2 separate regions of the Homo sapiens genome follow, and region 1 is linked to region 2. Evidence: promoter capture Hi-C in human tissues and cell types (Jung and others, 2019). All regions are on one chromosome and are shown on one strand. The core of a region is centred on a gene start or on the middle of the fragment in contact, and the rest is flanking DNA. Distances in the headings are between cores, read along the strand shown. Region 1 overlaps NUDCD1 (NudC domain containing 1). Region 2 holds the start of TMEM74 (transmembrane protein 74).

The links. Contacts are between HindIII fragments. The study calls those that stand out against the background at their distance.
Region 1: a contact is called between a fragment that was not itself captured here and the fragment with the promoter of TMEM74 in region 2, in 1 of the 25 tissues and cell types used here (mesendoderm cells).

The regions. Positions count from the first base shown.
Region 1 is chr8:109,316,669-109,321,102 of GRCh38, forward strand. All of the region lies in intron 2 of NUDCD1 (NudC domain containing 1), which reads right to left. Among named protein-coding and RNA genes, the nearest start is that of NUDCD1, 15 kb to the right of the region's middle. RefSeq lists an enhancer at 3,209-3,856. The HindIII fragment of the contact is 4,606 bases long and covers 297-4,434 here.
Region 2 is chr8:108,785,736-108,789,858 of GRCh38, forward strand. TMEM74 (transmembrane protein 74) reads right to left here and starts at 1,859. Exons shown (of 2, transcript NM_153015.3): 1 at 1,741-1,859. RefSeq lists silencers at 1,085-1,379, 1,795-1,974. The HindIII fragment of the contact is 13,104 bases long and covers 1-4,123 here.

The sequences.
Region 1 (4,434 bases), core at 1,350-3,849, 530 kb after region 2:
TGAGAAAAATAATAAAAAATAAGTGTAGTATTCTTCTGTATCCCAGGTACAAAATTTCTTAATACCTGGTCATCCCTGGACCACAAGCAAAACCACCTGAGGTGCTTGATAAAATGCAGGTTCCCAGTCCATGACCAACCCTGACAATAATGAATCAGAATTTTGGGAAATGGTACCTTGAAATTAGTTTTTGTTTTGATCAATTACTCCACAATTATTCCAAGGTACAATATGGTCTGAGAACCAAAGAAAATTAAGCAGAAAACAAGCTTTAAGAACCTAAAACATGGTTCTTTAAAAATAAACTAATACCTTTCCTAAAGCTTGATTAGGTAAAAAGAGGAAAAATATAGAAAGGAAAGAGAAAAGACAACAATAATCTTAAGAGCATAACGCATGCAACTTTATAGCAGCATATTTGGAAACCTAAGAGGAAACTGATGGTTTCCTCTAATAAAAATACATATTACAAAATTACCCTAGAAACACACTTTGAATAAACCCATTACTGCACAAAAAACTGAACAGGTGATTAGAGAACTGGCACTGAAAATGATAATAGAGACCAGGAGCAGTTGCTCATGCCTGTAATCCTCCAGCACTTTGGGAGACTGAGGCAGGCGGATCTCTGGAGCCTAGGGGTTCAAAACCAGCCTGGGCAACATGGTGAAACTCTGTCTCTATTAACACATAATATCCGTCTCTATTAACAAGAAATAAGGAGAACTGGTAGAGCACTGTGGCATTCTGGAATAAATGAGTTTAAATCCAGACTCTTACAAACATCCTATGCCTCAGTTTCCTCAACTGTAAGATGTGGATAATAATAGTATCTGGTATATCAGGATAATATCAGGATATTATCCTATGAGAAAGGATCCACAGGATCCATTGTTCTGTGGATTAAACAGTTAGTACGTGTAAAGTGTTTAGAATTGTTCCTGATATGTAATAATCTCTATGCAATAAAAGTTACCTGACATTATGATTTATTCTTATCATACAGTTCTACTGCTCTCAAAGAAGGAATATGTGCAAAAAAAACTAGCCAGTGTTTGTCTCCCATAAAGTGATACCCCAAGGCATATGCCAGTAATATCTCTTTATATTTGCATAATGCCTTCCACTTTTCAAAGCATTTTCACACACCTTGCTTTAACGTCTAAAAAACCTTATCATTATTCTTATTTTCTATGAAACTGAAGCCAAGGATATATGGAGACTGCTGTACCCTTTTTGTCAGCTACATATTACCATGTAATAGTTACCTGTACACTCATATTAGCACCTAAAAAGTATAACATATAAGTTACCTGAACTTATATGTAGAAGTATAAGTACTTGAACATGTTAAAAATAATGGTAAAACAGTTTTTATTTTTGCACCAACCTATACATTAGTGTCCTACACAGAGCAGGTTTTCAATAAACACGTTAAAATGAACTCATTTGGTAAGTCTGTCTTAAATGTCTAGTTTCCTTTTGACCAACTACCCTACCTCCCTAACAACACGTATTAGAGCTACATTACATGTGCCACAAGATATCTATGGAAAAGTAAAATAGATTATGAATATGGATGGTACTACAAAAATTAACACTTTCAGATCTACCATAATGTCATCTGACTTCGAGTCAGAAAATTGGTAGAATAAATGTTATTGGCAAACTTTATGGTACAGCAAATGCTATCAACAAATGCCCTATTTGTTAACACAAAAAGGATTAAGGAAAAACTTTCATGCACATACACACAGAACTCTACATCAAAATCTATTTGATCATTAAAATTTATTTGATCAGAGAGATCAGAGCATAGCCACTCATAAAAATGCATGTCCTATCACTTTAGTTGGCTTATACACATTGGGCCTAGATAGTAATCCTTAGTAGAACATGGGGCTAGCAAGAAAAAGCAACTAATATCTAAGAGTAAGAGGCCAGATTGCATTCCTCTGATCCAACAAGAAACAATCAGAATTTTACACTATCTGTTTTAGGAGTCACCTGAAGGAAAATATTTATTACCAGGAAATGTCTAACTCCTTTCTGAACATTTTGAGATAAACACTGCATTGCCAATACAGAACTCATACCTACACTTGGATTAGAAATAACAGGAGGAAGACCCTATTCCAAAGCCAACTCCCAACAGTAATAATGAACTTTACACAGCTATTATCCATTCAACAAATATACTGATCAAGCCTTCTGCTGGGTGCTAGAACCCATGGCCTCGTCCAGTGGGTGGCAAACTATAGTCCACAGGCCAATTCCTGCCCATTTTATGTTTTTTTTTTTTTTTTTGAGACGGACTCTTGCTCTGTGGCCCAGGCTGGAGTGCAGTGGTGCGATCTTGGCTCACTGCAAGCTCTGCTCACTGCAAGCTCTGCCTCCCAGGTTCACGCCATTCTCCTGCCTCAGCCTCCTGAGTAGCTGGGACTACAGGGACCTGCCACCACGCCTGGCTAATTTTTTGTATTTTTAGTAGAGACAGGGTTTCATCGTGTCAGCCAGGATGGTCTCGATCTCCTAACCTCATGATCCGCCCGCCTCTGCCTCCCAAAGTGCTGGGATTACAGGCGTGAGCCACCGCGCTCGGCCCATTTTATGTTTTTGTAAATAAAGGTTAATTGGAACACGGCCACACTCACTTGCTTATAAACTGTCTATGGCTGATTTCACACTACAACAGCAAAAGCGAGCAACAAGAGACTATCTGGCCCACAAAGCCTAAATTAGCTGGCCTTGTGCAGAAAAGCGTATCAACCTCTAGAATAGAAGAAATTCACAGCACATGTAGATTTGAGAGCCAATGGTGTGAATATTCCTAGGGGAACAGAGGTAAGATGTCAAGGCAAGCTTGCTAGATGACAAAATGGTTACCTAGGACTTAAGTAAAGATTGCAAAGCAGACTGACACTGAATTAAAAGTATGCTCCAGGTAGTTAATCAATGAGAAAAGGACCAGAAGAAATAGGATACAGCACATGTCTCAGGAACTGCAAGAGTTTAGTATGGCTAGAATGTAGTATACAAAGTGCTGTAAGACAAGGTTGGAGAAAACTCGGCATATAAACGTATATGCAAAGATGAAAAGTTTATTTTAAGAATATATATCATTTCATCAGGGAGCCTGCCCCAATATTCACCTAGGTTCTTTTCTATTTTCCCTAAGCATCGGCCAGCTTGAGAAATTAAGGGACAGAGTACAAAAGAGAGAAATTTTAAAGCCGGGCATCCGGGGGAGACATCACATGTCAGTAGGTTCCATGATGCCCCACTAGCCGCAAAAACCAGCAAGTTTTTATTAGGGATTTTCAAAAGGGGAGGGAGTGTGCGAATAGGTGTGGGTCACAGACATCAAGTAGTTTACAAGGTAATAGAATATCACAAGGCAAGTAGAGGCAGGGCGAGATCACAAAACCACAGGACTGGGGCGAAATTAAAATTGCTAATGAAGTTTCAGGCACCATTGTCATTGATAACATCTTATCAGGAGACAGGGTTTTGAGATCAACCGGTCTGACCAAAATTTATTAGGCAGGAATTTCCTCTTCCTAATAAGCCTGGGAGCACTATGGGAGACTGGAATCTATTTCACCTCTGCAGTCTCGACCATAAGAGACGACCATGCCCAGGGGGGCCAGTTCAGAGACCCACCCCCAGGTGCACATTCTCTTTCTCAGGGATGTTCCATGCTGAGAAAAAGAATTCAGCGATATTTCTCCCATTTGCTTTTGAAAGAAGAGAAATATGGCTCTGTTCCGCCCAGCTCACCTGCGGTCAGAGTTTAAGGTTATCTCTCTTACTCCCTGAACAATTGCTGTTATCCTGTTCTTTTTTCAAGGTGCCCACATTTCATATTGCTCAAACACACATGCTGTACAATTTGTGCAGTTAATGCAATTATTACAGGGTCCTGAGGCGATAGACATCCTCCTCAGCTGACAGGATTAAGAGATTAAAGAAAAGACAAGCATAGGAAATCACAAGGGTACTGATTGGGGAAGTGATAAGTGTCCATGAAATCTTTACAATTTATGTTTAAGAGATTGCAGTAAAGACAGGCATAAGAAATTACAAAAGTATTAATTTGGGGAGCTAATATATGTCCATGAAATCTTCACAATCTACGTTCTTCTGCCATGGCTTCAGCTGGTCCCTCCATTTGGGGTCCCTGACTTCCCGCAACATCATTTTGTGTTTATACTTGCAAAAAACAACAACAAATAACCTACCACATCTGGAAAGACACACAAAACCAATAAAGACATTGCAGGGGAAATAATGGATACTGGAGATAGGATAGATAAAAGATGGGATCAAGGAGGCTTCACTAAATACCTTTTATAACTTTTTTGGTTTTTAAATTACATGAACACATTGCCTATTTTTAAATTACATATTAAAAACATGGATTTTGCCATGAAG
Region 2 (4,123 bases), core at 609-3,108:
CAGCTTAATCAGCCACCTCTGCTAAGCTTACACCTCATACATCCAATGACCCTAGTGACACAGCCCTGTATTTACAAGACCATATGCTGCTTATTCACTGTGCTTCCACTTAGCCCTATTCCCTCACTGCTCCATGGGGGAAGCATGTTCTGGACCCCAAAGCATACAGGCAACAGACCTTACGGCAATCCCTGCAAAATACAATGGGCCAACCCACTCCTCCACACACACACCTGCCTGCTCCAGCTGCAGGATCTGCTACTCCCGTTCCCTGGGTCTGTGTTCCTCCCTCTCTGCATGCTTTGCTATCACACAATGCACAAGAAATTGACCATCTGGATAGTTTTACAAACCCAATCTAGAAGTGAACTGATAATAAAAGACAAACTATAAACCCACAGAGTAAGAGTTCTGTGGAGACAAATAGGTGAGAAGCTATTTCCAAGGTTACCTCTGTAATTTTATAAACATGTCACTCCTCACCCCCGACTGCAGCAAGGGGCATTTCTGGGAGAGAACTTTGGTTTGAGCAGAAAACCATCGGCTTTTCTCTGCCTCTGCCATGTTTCTAAGGAATAAAAATTCACTTTCCACTATCATTAGAGATTTTAACCAAAGGCTCCTTTTATTTTGCTTCCAAATCCAGGGTGATAATTGATTTAACCCAACGGCTTGAGGCTTCTTATAATTCAAAATCCACAGCTCCAAAGCTGGTAACAGAAACACAGGCAAGGGTCACCTAAGGTCAACCTGGCAACTCAAAATATGGGAGAGGGAATTGACATGTTTTCTGCTACACCTAAGAGTTTGTTTAAAACAAAACAAAAAAAGCAAAACAGAAAACGTTTTTCTCCTGTTATCGGAGTTTCTCTACAGTGAAAACAGCAAAAAACAACAGGGCAAAAGAATCACTACTAAACTAGAACAAACCCCCACTAAAGGATCCCTCAATGAATGAAGTGATGGTAACAGGCTTCATCAATTACCGATAACTCTTCTTCCAGTTTTCTCAGGCATTAGGGGCTCTGATTAACCTTTGGTACCATTAACTCATCACACTAGCCTACCTTGGATAAAATCAGCAGGGTTCTTTGAGACTTTCAGTTTATAACAAAAGAAGAGAGAAATCCCCACTTAATTCCCTACGGCCGCCTCTACCTCTCTTTAAAGAAAAGCTACTCCCGCTTGTTCGCTTGTTCTACCGGAGGTATGCTAGCAGCACAGTCGATTTCCTTTGCAGCTCCCTAATCCGGGGTTTCCATTCTCAGTGGAGAATGGATAATCCCAGGGGACCAGCTAAAGACTCTTTTCTTCCGTCCTCTCCCTCTTTTTCCTCTGATCTGCTTAAAAGCCCAGTTAACGACATTGCACCTTAAAGCGAGGGGACACGCACTTTCCCTCGTCCATCTGTCATCAATTAAAAGCATTAATATTTGCTTTAAACTGACACAGGCAAGGCTGATCTCGGGGAGGCGACCTCTGGATGCGCCCTGTGCGAGCAAAGCCGGGAGAGCGAGCCCCAAGCACCTGGCAGCGGTGCCCCCAGCAGGCGCCGAGGAATCCGGCTATCCATTTCTGGTGAACTCTGCGCCCACTGAGGCATTCGAGGTACGGATGTGTCCGCCTAGTACTCGGAGACGAAGGAGAGAGAGCGGGGATATGCGCTCCAGCTCTGCTAGGCTCCAGGGCTCTCACCCTTGCATTCAAAGCCTCCACCCCATCCCACTCCCCGCCACTCACCTTCTGCTTCGGCCACCCGGTGCGGCTCCAGCACCGCGCGCTCTCCCGGCACGGTTCCCGGAGAAAGTCCCCCAATCACCAGCTACGGCACTTGTAGCCTCTGCACGCCGCTCGGCTCCGCCGGGTGGGCAGCGCCCGCCACGGCGGGCGGGGTGGGGCGGGGCGGGGCGCTCCCGGAGCATCCCGGGAGTTGTAGGCCAGGGGCGGTCCCTGCATCCCTCCTGTCTCTGTCTCCTCCCACGCCTTCTGGGTTTTACCCTTCCTGCAGATGAGTTCCCGCCATACCCTCTTACTCCTCCCCAGCACTTAAGAAGACAGCACTGTTTTCTAAGCCTAGAGTGGAGTTCCCTAGCCTCAGGTGTGGCCACAAGACTGTGAAAAGGAAAGTATATTCGACTTCAAATGTGCCAGATAATTTGCATATTTTGTCTTTTTAATAGTCAAAACAAATCTTCCAAGTAGATTTTATTAATCCTCATTTTACAGATGTGGAAACAGGCTCAGAGAGGGTAAGTGCCTCATCCACAGTTACCAACAGCAGCTTCTGAAATTGCATCCAGGAGTCAGATTCGAAAGTCATTGCGTGTCTCACAAAATCAGAAGAAATATGACCATAAGGGGTAAGAGATTGTCCGATGTACCAACACATCCCCTGTATTTAGCACAGTGGTATTCGTTGAATGTATGAATAATAATGACTCAAAATAACAGTTAACATAAATAGCGCTTATTATTGCCAGGCTCTCTTCTAAGCACTATAGATACATTATCTCATTTAATGGTCACAATTTATTGTTAAAGTACTGTAAAAAAAAATCCTCATTTTAACAGAAGGCAAAACTGAGTTACAAAGTAGAATAATTTGCCCAATGTCACACAACTAATACTTAGCAGAGGTGGGGGGGGGGGGATGAACACCAACAGATTCTAAGCGTTATGCTATATGGAATGAATGGAAGAAAGACCAGAAGGCCAGAATAAAAGGGCTCAGGAATAAAGGAAATCTGAAGGTTGAATCTTCTGAGTTGTGACTCTTAGGATAGGACAAGGTAACTGTGTCACCAGCCTCTTTCAACCAGAGTGGACTGCAATAGCCAACAGCCACTGAAAGCCCAGGGTATGTGTAGCTTGCAGATAATCTCCAGTTTTCCAGCATCCTGTTGGGACAATTCTAGGGGAGCAAAAAAGGATTATAGTATGGATGGGCTGGGCACGATGGCTCACGCCAGTAATGCCAGCAATTTGGGAGGCCGAGGCGGGCAGATCACGAGGTCAGAAAATCGAGACCATCCTGGCCAACATGGTGAAACCCCGTCTCTACTAAAATAGAAAAAATTAGCCGGGCGTGGTGGCGCGTGCCTGTACTCCCAGCTACTCAGGAGGCTGAGGCAGGGGAATCGCTTGAAGCCGGAGGCGGAGGTTGCAGTGAGCAGAGATCGTGCCACTGCACCACTCCAGCCTGGCGACAAAGCAAGACTCCGTCTCAAAAAAAAAAAAAAGAAAAAAAGAAAAAAGGGATTAGGGATTATAGTATGTATTATGACATTGTGCTTGTAGCTCACATAAATACTGTGGTTGCTTGCTTTCAAAAGAGAGATCTATCTCCTTTAATGACAATTATGTTGGTATTTCATTACATTGGATAGAATCTATAGTCACATGATTACAGGAGTTCACAATGCTCCCTCTTTAAAATTCTTTTTCCCCCATATGATTATATTTGTAGCCAGTGAGGCCCATTTGTTGATAAACATGACAGATGTATTATGACTTCTCCTTTGCTTACTACACGGTTCTCCAGCATGAATATCTTTCCTCCACTGCCCTATTCCATCCACACTTCAAGGACTAGTTTGTCAAGCCAAATCTACAGGGATGCATCCAGTTCTTAGTACTACATATGCAAAAAGAAATAAAGAGAGAAACTAAGATGTAGAAGGAACTTGAATTTATGTTGACGAGGAAAAACTTAGGAACTTAGGCTATTTAGCCATAGGAGAATACTGAGAGGAAACAATAAACTAGCTTCAAATATTCTGAAGTTTCTAAAAATAGAAGAAGAATTCTATAGTATATTTAAAAGGGTAAAAGCAGAACAAATAACAATAATACTTTTTTGTTAGTGCTATTATGTTATCATCTTTAATTTTTACACCAACTTCACAAGGGAGGCAGTATTATTGCACCCATTTTGCAATGTAGAAATTGAGGCTTGAAAAGATGTAGTTTCTTTTCCAAGGCCTGAAAACTAATATCGGGCAGAGCTAAGGTTCTAACTTGGGTCTGTGTGATTCCAGAGACTTGATCTCTTTGCCAACACATTATACTGAGCAATGCTTCACAATCTTTTTTACAGCAGAGTACACATAAGAGGTGATACTAT